Regions from separate parts of the Homo sapiens genome. Here all the other regions are linked to region 1. Evidence: promoter capture Hi-C in human tissues and cell types (Jung and others, 2019). All regions are on one chromosome and are shown on one strand. Each heading gives the region's core, a stretch centred on a gene start or on the middle of the fragment in contact. The rest is flanking DNA. Distances are from core to core; before and after follow the strand shown. Region 1 holds the start of LDB2 (LIM domain binding 2). Region 2 has its middle 59 kb from the start of SNORA75B. Region 3 overlaps LDB2 (LIM domain binding 2). Region 4 has its middle 37 kb from the start of SNORA75B. Region 5 has its middle 57 kb from the start of SNORA75B.

What was found. Contacts are between HindIII fragments. The study calls those that stand out against the background at their distance.
Region 2: a fragment that was not itself captured here is called in contact with the fragment with the promoter of LDB2 in region 1 in 1 of the 25 tissues and cell types used here (lymphoblastoid cells).
Region 3: a fragment that was not itself captured here is called in contact with the fragment with the promoter of LDB2 in region 1 in 1 of the 25 tissues and cell types used here (dorsolateral prefrontal cortex).
Region 4: a contact is called between a fragment that was not itself captured here and the fragment with the promoter of LDB2 in region 1, in 2 of the 25 tissues and cell types used here (H1 embryonic stem cells and lymphoblastoid cells).
Region 5: a fragment that was not itself captured here is called in contact with the fragment with the promoter of LDB2 in region 1 in 1 of the 25 tissues and cell types used here (heart left ventricle).

What each region holds. Positions count from the first base shown.
Region 1 is chr4:16,897,387-16,900,086 of GRCh38, forward strand. LDB2 (LIM domain binding 2) reads right to left here and starts at 1,259. Exons shown (of 8, transcript NM_001290.5): 1 at 968-1,259. The coding sequence starts at 1,099. The HindIII fragment of the contact is 10,471 bases long and covers 1-2,700 here.
Region 2 is chr4:17,260,148-17,262,847 of GRCh38, forward strand. No RefSeq gene overlaps it. Among named protein-coding and RNA genes, the nearest start is that of SNORA75B, 59 kb to the right of the region's middle. The HindIII fragment of the contact is 4,251 bases long and covers 1-2,700 here.
Region 3 is chr4:16,628,170-16,630,874 of GRCh38, forward strand. All of the region lies in intron 2 of LDB2 (LIM domain binding 2), which reads right to left. Among named protein-coding and RNA genes, the nearest start is that of LDB2, 270 kb to the right of the region's middle. The HindIII fragment of the contact is 3,457 bases long and covers 1-2,705 here.
Region 4 is chr4:17,282,052-17,284,751 of GRCh38, forward strand. No RefSeq gene overlaps it. Among named protein-coding and RNA genes, the nearest start is that of SNORA75B, 37 kb to the right of the region's middle. RefSeq lists an enhancer at 2,462-2,700. The HindIII fragment of the contact is 5,072 bases long and covers 1-2,700 here.
Region 5 is chr4:17,376,858-17,379,557 of GRCh38, forward strand. No RefSeq gene overlaps it. Among named protein-coding and RNA genes, the nearest start is that of SNORA75B, 57 kb to the left of the region's middle. The HindIII fragment of the contact is 5,246 bases long and covers 1-2,700 here.

The DNA of each region.
Region 1 (2,700 bases), core at 9-2,508:
CTTCCACACAAAGCCCCAACTTACAGGCAGATGGACAATCCAGCAGCAAGACCTGCCAGCTGAGCTAGCACAGAGAAAAAGTCAACTGACATAAAATATTTAAATTGCAGGAGGCGAGTCTGGAGTTTTGCATTTAAAAAGTTCTGAAAGTCCTGTTCTCTCTGCTCCCAGAGTTGCTGGCTGCCTAGGAGGCTGAGTCTCCCTCTCTCAGGCACAAGATCTCAAATATGCAAAAACTAGAGCTGACTTGAAAGCTGAACCAGCTCCTGTCCTAAGGTAGAGTGATAGGGGGGCACGGCCGACAGCAATAGGAGAAAGTCTAGAGTCCCCTTGCCCCAAGCAACTGGTTTCTGATTTTAACACTGAAATATACAAACATGTGTCCCTCCAGGGCTAGTTCTGAGAAGTAGGCAGGTTTACTCTTCTGCCCCTTTTTACCTCGATTTTGGTGACTCTGAAAAGTAAATACAGGTCAAAGCAGACTTCCTCTAGGATTTGTAAAAAAGAAAATATATATATATATATATATATATATATATATATATATATATACACATATGTATATATATATATATATATATATATATACACATATGTATATATATATATAGCCAGATGCAAACAATCACAAAATTCCTTGGAATTATATCTCAAGAAACACCAACAGGACTGACTCAGAGCCTGTAAAACACCAGAGTTCTGGAAGAGCAACATTTCTGGAAACCCGGCATGTGAATCAAGTGCTGGGTTGTCTCAAGATTCCGGCAGAAACTGTCCTCTGCTACAAGAGTTGCTGTGCCTGGAAACCCAGCGTCCAAACTCGTGGATTCATCCTGGCGCTCATTTCCACGTACGTGGTAGTATCAAGTGGGACACTTCCCATAGAATTCAGCCAGAAACCCTAGGAAAAGCTCATGCATAGCTTAACAAAAATACACAAACACATCCCCAAGGTTGAAGTACTTACCTCTGTGCGAGACTGCAGTCTCTTGTTCATCTCATAGATTCGGTACTCTGGCTGTACCATGTATGGTGTATGCCTCCTATAAAATGGGCCGAAAGGAGAAGAATAGAAGGGGTCATGTGGTGTGCTGGACATCTTGCCTGCTTTTCGAAAATCAAGCTAAACAGAGTATCAGTAACGTCCATGCAGAGCACATGGGCTGTGTTCTTCCCAGTACAAAGTAGACGCACGCACACACGCTCACACACACACAGAGGCAGGCAGGCAGGCAGGCTGAACACGCTGGCTGGGAACTGCTGTCGGAGCCCTCTATAGCAGGAGAGGAGAGGGAGAGGAGAGGAGGGAGGGAAAGAGGGAGGGAGGGAGGGAGCACGGGAGAGGAGGGAGAGGGAGAGAGCAGGAGCTCCAGAGAGGGAGGGAGGTTGGTATGGAGGAAGGGAGGGAAGAAGGGAGGGAGGGAGGGAGGGAGGAGGGAGGGAGGGAGGGGGAGAGAGAGAGAGAGAGAGAGAGAGAGAGAGAGAGAGAGAGAGAGAGAGAGAGAGAGAGAGAGAGGAGCTGGATAGCTTTAGGCACCACTGCTTGTTTTTAAAGAAGCAGTTTGTGGAGAGGTCATTTCCTGTCCACATTGTAGACTAGTTCACAAATATAATTCTCCTCACAGTCTGACAAGAGGTCTAAGGTTTGGTTTTAATTTTTTTCCTCCAGCCAGGACCCTTCACAACCTGATTGCTAAGCTTGTTAGCATAGAGGTGGTCTAACCGCTACATGAGCCGCTCACCCCTGACAACCACACTGTTGTAATGTATCAGAAATGTTGATTACTACAAAATACAGAAACACGGGCACTGTGGTGCCCCGAATTGGGACCGGTGATTCACTCACATGCAGAGATTTATTTCAGCACTAATCTCCCTATGTAGTTTTGCTTTACTTGCTGTTGTTCCAAGGGCTGTTATATTCTTTGCCCTCCACTCCATCTCACTCCCATCTCTCCCCACTCACCCCTCTTCCCAGCCACCTCCCTCTTCTCCAAAGACTTCATTCAGGCCCTTAAGGTGCCTGGGCATTTTCAGGTAAAAACAGTCGTTCTGAATGTGGAAGGTATAAAATACACTTAAGGAGAGCAATGGTCTTTTTTCCCAGGAAGGAAAAACAAACAAACAAACAAACAAAAAACCCAAACAGACCTCCCAATAAGACAGGAAAAGCAAAGAAGGAGAAAACTGCCACAAAAATGACCACGGAAAATTTGGTTGAGAAGGAAATTGCAAATAATTGAATGGATCATCCCCAGATAACATGTCCAACTCTTATGGAGACAAAGTCTGTATTTTCCAAGATTGGTCAAGTAAACAAATATTTTCCCAACTGTGGTATATGATAACCATAAGAAATCCCAACAGCCCATGGAAGGGGAAAATCTCTATAGAGAATTAAACAATCTATAAAATAATCAAATTCTGCTAGAACCCACTATAACCAGAGATACGACACTTAAACAAAGCCCAGCCACACAAAATTTAAATGTATTGAGCTAACACCTAGGTAGGTCAGTGGTATTAAGGAAATAAAGCAAAGGACCACCAAAAAGCATAATGAATTCAAGACCTGAATGCAAATGCATGCAAATGAGACATTTCTTCTTTTTAATAAGCAGATTAATTAACTTTCTGCCCCAATCATGGCTTGGGTATCTCCAAGTCACTAGCCAACAGGGGATAGAGTATTGCTAATTC
Region 2 (2,700 bases), core at 140-2,639, 360 kb after region 1:
CATGTTAGATGGCAGCTCACAGATTAAGAGGCTTCTCTGCCTCCCACTCTGGACTTCAGTATCTTATTCTGCAGCCACAGAAAAAATTACTATGAACATAGAGCTTAAAACATCATCCACTCATCATCTCAGTTTCCAGGGATCAGGAGTCCAGGCCTGACTCAGCATGGTCCTACTCAGGGTCTCCCAAGACTGTAATCAAGGGGTCATCTGAGCCAATTTCCTATCTGGAGGCTTGACTGAGAAGAATTCACTTCCAAGCCCACTCATGGTTGTTGGCAGAATTCATTTCCTTGCAGATGCATGGCTGAGGCCCATGTTTTTTTGTTTGCTGTCAGCCAGCGATCACTCTTAGTTCTAAAGCCACCCTCAGTTCCTTGCCATGTGGCCCCGTCCATAGGCCCTCCTACAAATTGGCAGATCACTTCTTCAAAGCCAGCAGGTTTATCTCTCACTCCTGTCTGCTAGGGCAGAGTCCAGTGTAATGTAGCACAACAATGGGAGTGACTGTCATATCTCCTTTGTCATATTCTATGGTCTAGAAGCTAGTCACAGGCTCCAACCACACTCAAGGGGAGGTATGACTCATTGGGGGCAACCTTAGAGTGTGTCCACCACACACGGTTTCTTTCCTTTCTCCCTCCCTCCCTTCTTTCTTTACTTCCTTTCTTCCACATGTAGATGGTCTGCTATGTGCAAATCATATTACCTTAAGTCAAACAAAAATGATTAAAGCAAGCCCCTTGTCTTGGCGCAGGCTGCTACAACAGACTATCATACCCTGGGTGGCTTAAACAACAGACATTTATTTCTCACAGTTCTGGAGGCCAGAAATTGAGGTCAGGATGCCTACATGGTCAGGTTCAGGTGAGGACTCTCTCTAGTGTTCAGACAGCCGTCTTCTCAGTGTATCCTCACATGATAGAGAACAAAGCAGAGAGAATCATTAACCTCTCCTGTTTTTCTTCTAAGGGCACTAATCCCATTCACGAAGTCTCCACTCTTGTGACCTAATTATTTCCCAAAGGCCCCACCTCCTGGTACCATTGCATTCGGTGTTGGGATTTCAACATATGAATTTGGGGGAGACACAAAAATTCAGTCCATAGCACCCCTATGTTTCAAAAGCTCATACACTAGTGGAAGAGACAGTCCTGTAAACAGCTACAGTATAGCTTGTAATCAACAATGGCCTATAGTCATGTACAAGCCCCAGCCCAGGACCAGGAGCCCTAATTTTCCACGACAAAGGCAGGAAAATTCATGGAGGAGGTGCCATTTGATAGGCTTTTGAAAGAGGAGTGGAAGCCCCACATGTTTCCACAGTGCTTTACCTGTGTCAGGCATTCAGCAAATGTGTGTGTAATAAAAAGCTCAAGAATGTGATCGAAGAACTAATTTTACAAATGAGCAGAGTAAAGCCTTGGGGAAAACACCTGACATCACAGCAATTTCAACATAATAATTAGTGCATGGTCACATGTTGAGTGGCCAAGAACTTGAAATTCTTCAAAAATCAATCACTTCATTCCGTACCTAAGAAGCAGCTGAGATGACCAAAAAGGACAGGACAGGAGAATGCAGTCTCAGAGCCAAGAAAAGGTGAGTGGAAGGACCAGAGTTCACTGCAACAGATTGGAGAAGAAAGAAGACAGAGCTGTCTGATGGCTGCACTCAGACAGGTGGTTCTGGACCAGTGAAATGCAGACAGTCATCCACTTCCAAAGTTTCTCCTTTTTTTTTTTTTTTTTTGATATGGAGTCTTGCTCCATCACCCAGGCTGGAATGCGTGGTGCAATCTCGGCTCACTGCAACCTCTGCCTCCCAAGTTCAAGTGATTCTCACACCTCAGCCTCCCTAGAGAAGCTGAATTACAGGTGCATGCCACCATGCCTAATTATTTTTTATTTTTAGTAGATGTGGGGTTTTACCATGTTGGCCAGGCTGGTCTCAAACTCCTGATCACTTCAAGTGATCCATCTGTTCAGCCTCCCAAAGTGCTGGGATTACAGGCATGAGCCATCGTGCCAGCCCACTTCTAAAGTTTCTACTTTCAGACAACCTGCCTTTTCACACATCACATACCAACACCATAAAGTGACTTTCGTATACCCAGGAAAGACTTTCTTCTATGAGCTGACAAATGAACATTTTGAACTATTTAATAGTAGTACCCATCAAGTTCCTTTCTGACAGTGTTATCACCTTGGGCTGTATAATAGTGTTCAATGCAGAATATGAATATATTACTGGAAGGGTCTTTAAACAGGGTTCTGGGGGTCCCAGAGAGATGCCTCTAAGACCTTCGTATTCCTGTCTCAATTTTAATCCAAGTTGGTCTACTTATTTTATTATTTGTATAAATTTAAGGGGTACAGGTGCAATTTTGTTATGTGAATATATTGCATAATGGTGAAATCTGGACTTTCAGTGTAACCATCACCTGAATCATGTACACTGTGCCCATTAAATTTCTCATCCTTCACCTATCCCACCCTTCTACACTTCTGAGTCTCTAATGTCTATTATTCCACACTTTATGTCCATGTATACACATTATTTAGCTCTCACTTATAAGTGAGAACATGTGGCATTTGGTTTTCTGTTCCTGCATTAATTTATTTAGAATAATGGCCTCTAGCTGCATCCATGTTGCTGCAAAGAAAATAATTTCATTCTTTTTATGGCTGAGTAATATTC
Region 3 (2,705 bases), core at 134-2,633, 270 kb before region 1:
CTTCTAAACGCTTGTAAACTCTGTGTGAATCAGAAATATACGGGTTGCATTACTCTGACTCAATTCATCAGAATGTTGTTTTGCAAGGATTACGTGAATTCCAGGAAGGCCTTGAAAAATAGCATTCTTTCATCTCATGCCCCAAAAGCTCCCAACAGGATGGATTCCCAAAACCCAAGATGTTGCCATTTGACTTAGAACTTCTCCAGGAGAAGCTCACCATCTATTCAGCTCCTACAGAGGGCCCTGGACTGAAGGTACTGATTTTCCAAATTGATAGTGTATTTGCATCAGATCCATCTTCCTATGATTTGGGGATGAGAAAGGTAACTTTTGGGAAAGACCCTTCTCAACTTTTTTTGCCTGACAAAACACTACCCGTCCTCTGGTGAGTTAAATCTTTTTTTTTTTTGTCCTGTACCATTCGAGAAAGCCTCTCTTAAATTTGAGTCACCCGGGGTCACTTCCAAGATGGCCAAATAGCAACAGCTCTGGTCTACAGCTCCCAGCGAGATAGACGCAGAAGATGGGTGATTTCTGCATTTCCAACTGAGGTACCTGGTTCATCTCACTGGGACTGGTTGGACAGTGGGTGCAGCCCATGGAGGGTGAGCCGAAGAAGGGTGGGGTGTCACCTCACCCAGGAAGTGCAAGGGGTCAGGGGATCTCCCTTTCCTATCCAAGGGAAGCCGTGAGTGACTGTACCTGGAGAAGCAGTACACTTCTGCCCAAATACTGCACTTTTCCCATGGTCTCACAACCGGTAGACCAGGAGATCCCCCACCCTGTGCCTGGCTCAGTGGGTCCCATGCCCATGGAGCTTTGCTTGCTGCTAGTGCAGCAGTCCGTGATGGACCTGGGATGCTGAAGCTTGGTTGGGGGAGGGGCATCCGCCATTGCTGAGGCTTGAGTAGGTGGTTCTATGCTCACAGTGTAAACAAAGTGGCAGGGAAGCTCAAACTGGGTAGAGCCCACCACAGATCAGCAAGGCCTACTGCCTCTCTAGATTCCACCTCTGGGGGCAGGGCATATCAGAACAAAAGGCAGCAGACAGCTTCTTCAGACTTAAACGTCCCTGCCTGACAGCTATGAAGAGAGCAGTGTTTCTCCCAGCATGGAGTTCAAGCTCCAAAAATGGACAGACTGCCTCCTCAAGTGGGTCCCTGACCCCCGTGTAGCCTAATTGGGAGACACCTCCCAGTAGGGGCCAACAGACACCTAATACAGATGGGTACCTCTCTGGGATGAAGCTTCCAGAGGAAGGATCAGACAACAATATTTGCTGTTCTGCACCCTCTGCTGGTGATACCCACGCAAACAGGGCCTGGAGTGGACCTCCAGCAAACTCCAGCAGACCTGCAGCTGAGGGGCCTGTCTGTTAGAAGGAAAACTAACAAAGAGAAAGGAATAGCATCAACATCAACAAAAACAGAAGTAGGCTTCAGAAGATTGGTAATAACAAATTTCTCCAAGCTGAAGGAGCATGTTCTAATCCACTGCAAGGGAGCTAAAAACCTTGAAAAAAGGTTAGAAGAATAGCTAACTAGAATAACCAGTGTACAGAAGAGCTTCAATGACCTGGTGGAGCTGAAAACCACAGAACAACAACTTCGTGAAGCATACACAAGCTTCAATAGCCGATTCAATCAAGCGGAAGAAAGGATATCAGTGATTGAAGATCAAATTAATGAAATTGAGTGAGAAGACAAGATTAGAGAAAAAGGAGTGAAAAGAAACAAACAAAACCTCCAAGAAATATGGGACTATGTGAAAAGACCAAATCTACATTTGATTGGTGTACCTGAAAGTGACAGGGAGAATGGAACCAACTTGGAAAACACTCTGCAGGATATTATCCAGGAGAACTTCTCCAACCTAGCAAGGCAGGCCAACATTCAATTTCAGGAAATACAGAGAACACCACAAAGATACTCCCTGAGAAGAGAAACCCCAAAACACATAACTGTCAGATTCACCAAGGTGGAAATGAAGGAAAAAATGTTAAAGGCAGCCAGAGATAAAGGTCGAGTTACCCATAAAGAGAAGCCCAACAGACTAACAGTGATGTCTCTGCAGAAACCCTACAAGCCAGAAGAGAGTGGGGGCCAATATTCAACATTCTCAAAGAAAAGAATTTTCAACCCAGAATTTCATATCCAGCCAAACTAAGCTTCATAAGTGAAAGAGAAATAAAATCCTTTACAGACAAGCAAATGCTGAGAGATTTTGTCACCAGCAGGCCTACCTTATAAGAGCTCCTGAAGAAAGCACTAAACATGGAAAGAAACAACTGGTACCAGCCACTGCAAAACATGCCAAATTGTAAAGACCATCAACGCCGTATAAAGAAACGGCATAAATTAATAGGTGAAAACACCAGCTAGCATCATAAGGATAGGATAAAATTCACACATAACAATATTAACCTTAAATGTAAATGCGCTAAATGCCCCAATTAAAAGACACAGACTGGCAAATTGGATAAAGAGTCGAGACCCATCGGTGTGCTGTATCAGGAGATCCATCTCACATTCAAAGATGCACATAGGCTCAAAGTAAAGGGATGGAGGAAGATCTACCAAGCAAATGGAAAGCCGAAAAAAGCAGGGATTGCAATCCTGGTCTCTGATAAAACAGACTTTAAACCAACAAAGATCAAAAGAGACAAAGAAGGCCATTACATAATGGTAAAGGGATCAATTCAA
Region 4 (2,700 bases), core at 175-2,674, 380 kb after region 1:
TCTCTACTAAAAATACAAAAAAAAAAGCCAGGCTTGGTGGCAGGCCCCTGTAATCCCAGCTACTTGGGAGGCTGAGGCAGGAGAATCGCTTGAACCCAGAAGGTGGAGGTTGTGATGAACTGAGATCACACCATTGCACTCCAGCCTGGGCAACAAGAGCAAAACTCCATCTCAAAAAAAAAAAAAAAAAAAAAGATAAAGGGAACTCTAAATCATGTTCCTGCCCACTGTCCTTCAAGCGTCGCCTCTCTCTGGTGCAGGAAGTACTACACAGGCTTTCTTCATTCTTGTCCACCTGAGTCAGTACACCCTAATGCCTGCTTCATCACTGCTGCCCGGTGGACCCTCTGGCTCCTGAGGCTCGTGCCCTCTCCCGGTCACTTCCCCATGCACAACACCCCTCTGCATTTATTCCCCAGAGTACCACCAACACAAGACAATCGTGTGCTGCAGATTTCTACTAAAGTTTTGCAGACAGCAGAAGGTATTTAGAGCATAAAGCAGAGAACAGCTTCAAACTAAAAATCAGATATCAAATCCCTAGAAATATATTCTCCACTCCCTGCCACAGAGAGTGCCCGATTGGCTTTGTTATTTCTCCTCTTGTCTAGCAGCATGCAAATTTCCTTGTGTTCTTTCATCTCTTCCTACCCTTGACTCCTGGGTTCTGACAACATTTTGTCTTGCCTGCCATAGATATTCAAACTTTGACCTTATTTTGCTGCACAAGTACATTCCAGACACTTATTGACCTCAACTTTGCCATCCAATGTACACCCAGGGTGGAGCAAGGAAGGGGAAGATAGGGGCTTGTCTTCTTCACCTAAAAGACCTACCAGGGAATGTTCCTACAAATTCATCCACCCAAAAGAAAAATATTGCCTTTTACATACAGGGGAATTTGAAGGTTCTTCTCTAAGCTGAGATTCTATGATTTTGTGGTTTTACTTTTTGTCTTTAAATGGCTAAGTGCTTAAGAAACAATGAGCACTAGTCCCCCACGGTCAAGGATGGGAGGACTAAGGCTCACAAGTTTTGAGGATCAAAGATTCCTAGAATACAGCGAGGATTGCCATGCATTTACAAAGCCCCTTCTTCCTTTGTGCATTCGAACAAACCTGAAAATACTCTCATCCCCATTCAATAAACAGAAGCTTAAAATTCAGTAGAAGCAGGAAGTAGTGACAGAAGATGAAAGAGAGTAAAAATGATTCGGAGGAGAAAAAAAAAATACAAGGGAATGAAATGTCCACACCCAAAAAGTTGTGGACTAAATGAGATGAAGGATTTGGGTCCCCGAAATACCACCCTCTCCTTTTGCCTCCCGGTTTGATGCTGGTGTGGAGCTGCGAGCACTTGGGCAGATATTTGCATGCTCTAAGTGTTCCGCTGGGAAAGTGGCAGATATCGAGACAGATGGCTCTAGGAAGTGTGGGTGAGCCTGACGTCAAGTTTATGAGCCAAATGGTGTTTTCTGAGTTCCACCTCTTCAGATCCCATCCATAACAGACCCACTACCTCAAACCATGCCCCTCCCTGAAGCCTCTCCTGCCCCCTTGATCATAACAATCTTTCTTTCCTCTAATAATAATAAATGCTGGTTAAACATGTACTGTTCTGTCAAATATTGTCATTTAGGCCTCATCCGTCAAGGACCCCCTTGAAGGCCACAACAGGGTCTTCCCTCTGTACCGCACTGGCCTGGAATTCCTCCATTTACTCGACACATCCTTATCAAATACCTACTATGTGCCAAGCGCTGTGCTTCGCATGAGGGAAATCAACAGGGGACCAATGAGAAGGTCCTTATCTTCATAAGGATCTCATTCGAGAAAAAAAGAAACAATAAATACATAAATAAAATGAAGAGTCCAGCTCCTGGTTTAAAAAACCTACGTGTGATTTTTCAGGCCCGACCATAGGCAAGTACAAAGGCTTCACCTGGCTGGCTCCATGGGCAACATCTGCCCTTCCCACAGCAGACTTGGCTCACAGCCACTGCATGGCAGGCTCTGAAGGGAATTGGAAAGGACTCAGGCCCCTCTAGCTGGTCCTGCTCTTCACATATTTGTAACCCTAGGCCCAGAGCCTTCATTCCTGGGTTTCTTTGTCCAAGACCTTGGGCAGAGGTCCTCTGCAGACATCTCTGCCAAGTCCTACTTATGGTGAAAAGAACGGAAAAACCTGGAAGACCATTTTTCCCACTCCGACTCAGTACTCAGTACTTTTCCACTCCTGGCTCTCAGCCCTGATCCTCCCCAACCCCAGAGTCCATAAACTGCTCCCTCTACCCCACACCTGCTCTGACCCACCTGACCTCAGCCTGTGCACTGTGCCATGGGCAGCAGGGGAAATCTTACTGCGTGGGTTTAGCCCCTTGCTTGTACCATAGCAGTTAGTGAATAAAGGCTGTGCTGGTACTTCCATGTCAACCCCCTGATGCTTCATCAGCTACTCCTACACCTGATAGCTCAGCCCTCTCTCCAGCTCAGCTGAGCTCCTGAGAAAAAATAACAAATCGTCACATAGAATAAGATCTTAAATGGAATTTCTGGTGTTGTCTTAGAATTTTGGCTGAAGCCCAAAGCTGAGAACAATAGATGATAAATAAAACCCTCTCATTCCTCCTCCAGCAAACTGTAACTAAATATGGAAAGGTGTAGACTACCCATTCAGGAAGTCCTGTGACCCACAGCCCAC
Region 5 (2,700 bases), core at 50-2,549, 480 kb after region 1:
AAAAATGAGACAAGGACAACTCCACGCTTCCCAACCAACCACCAAACCTGGGATATGCTTGTTAGAGAGAGGTTTCAGCAATTTGGCACTCACTCCTCCCTCCCTTCCCTACAGAGGAAGCTGTCCACACAAGCTGCAAAGAGGAAGCCAAGGGCCAAATTACAAAGAGAAGAAAAAGCACCTGGAAACACATACCACATGCTCAAGTAAATGCTGGATTTAATATATGGAAAGACCCAAAGTCTAAAGAAGTCAGTTGCCCTGAACCTCGTATAGCAGGATCTGTGGGGCATAGCATCCCTCTAACTTAGCGTCTAAGTTAGATGCTAAGCGTCTAAGTTAGCATCTAAGTTAGCGTCTAAGTTAGACACTTTGGTGTGGGAACCAAAGCAGAATCAAAAAAGAGGCAGGCCTGCCTAGGTACTCTTGCCACCTGGAAGCCAGATGCACAAAGAGAGCAATTCCACCATGGGATGCTGCTGCCAATGAGTCCTGGCCAAGGGTGACTGTATTATGTTCTCACACTGCTAATAAAGACGTACACAAGACTGGGTAATTTATAAAGGAAAGAGGTTTAATGGACTCACAGTTCCATATGGCTAGGGAGGCCTTACAATCATGGTAGAAAATGAAGGAAAAGCAAAGGGACATCTTACATGGCAGCAGGCAAGAGAGCTTGTGCCAGGGAACTCCCATTTATATAACCGTCAGATCTCATAAGACTTATTCATGAGAACAGTATGGGTGAAACTGTCCCCATGATTCAGCTATCTCCCATGGCCCCACCCTTGACATGTGAGGATTATTACAATTCAAGGTGAGATTTGAGTGGGGACACAGCCAAACCATATCAGCGGCCTCATGGTAGACAATGGATCAATCAGAGCTGCCCTCGGAGAGTGGACACAGTCCCCCTTCCTTTCAGGCACTATACTCTTACCAGTCAGACATTAACTTTGCCCAATTGAGCACTTAGGCTCTACCCAATTAGAACAGCAACTCCATTCTTAGAGAAAATGAGTGAAGGTTTCTGCTGCAACTATTGCAATTATTATGACAAATATAATCAAGCACTAATGAGAAATCAGAGGAGGTAGTATAATGAAGGGCAATTACATATTATGCAACATTGAATTAATGTGAAAGTATATGGTATAAAAATATTAATGAAGTCCCCATCTATGCACAAAATTCAAAATTAGGCAATTTCCAAAACATTGTTTAGTTCATCAGCAACTATTATTTTCAGTGCTGTTATGCAAAGTGAATTGTAAGCAGTGTTCATGTTACTACCACTTGAGCCGGTAAACAGAAACCCACCATCAGAAATACTTTTATTGGGTCTGTGAGAAAATTCATCTTCAATTATGTTAGCTTTGAATTATGTAAATTCTTTAAAAATCTATCCTTCACATAAACTGTAATCTCTGTCCATGAGTGCAGGGGAAAGGCATTTCAGAAAAAGCTAAGTATCATTCATAAACACATAGAAGCAAGAAAGAAAGAAAGAAGGAGGGAAGGAGAAAGGAAAGGAAAACAGAAAGGAAGAAAGGAAGGAAGAGGGTTTAAAATAGTCAAGAAACAGTAGGAAGTGGAGGAGCAGGGAATGAAGCTAAAAAACATTGGTTGCAAACCAATAATGCCCAAAAGCCTGGCCTCAATTCAGTATCAGGCCATGATGGAATTTTCATAAATCCACAGTGAAATGAGAAAAACCAGCATGGCATTTTCCACAAAGCTAAATACGTAAGATATTTATATAATTGTTTCAAATGACCTTTTATTATGAGACCACATCCTCTGTAATTTGTTAGCAATAAAATTTCCTATCTGTACACCTACTATGTACCCACAAAAATTAAAAATTTAAAACTTGTTTTAAAAATAAAATACAGTATCTGTTATGAAATGGTGGCAATGGCATATGACAGATGTCATACAGAGTTATTTTTATACATTGTTTTTTGACAAAATTAAAATTGACAATCTTATATAGATCCACAATTTATTTTTTGGAAATATTACTGCTCATAAAATGAAAGAGACTGGGAACCACAGTCCTATGGGAAGAAATTTGCATAATTGAATAAGGCACCAGATTAAGCACCATGGAAATAATTCTAGATGTTGATTATTAAATGTGTTTAAATGTACATCAATAATTTAAAAGAAAGCACTACAAGACCATAAATAGTATGCAAGTGTTTCAAACTACTAGAGGGAAAAAAATGTAACAAAAAAGCCTAATAAATTCAACAAAGATCAAAATAGAAAAACACAAATAAAACATGAAATAAATAAGATGGCAAGAATAAGTCCAAACATACCATTAATCATGACAAATACATCTGGGTTATATTTTCCACACAGAAACTCCCAGATTGGTCATGAAAACCAAACCAAATCAAACAAATAAAAACTGTCTGCATGATGTTCATAGGAATCACATTAAAATAAGAAATTTAAATAAGGTGACAGTGGAAGATAAATCAGACAAATGTTAGCTACTATTCCCCAATCTGTCCTCCTCAAAGAAAACAGTGACTCAATATTAATTTCAAATGAAATAAAATTCAAAGGAGTGGAACATTAAATGAGATGCAAGAAATTTTTACGTTGACAAAATGTAAAACCTACCAAAAACCTACAACAGCAGTTAACAACATAGCAGTTAACAGCATAGTTTCAAAATATACAAGA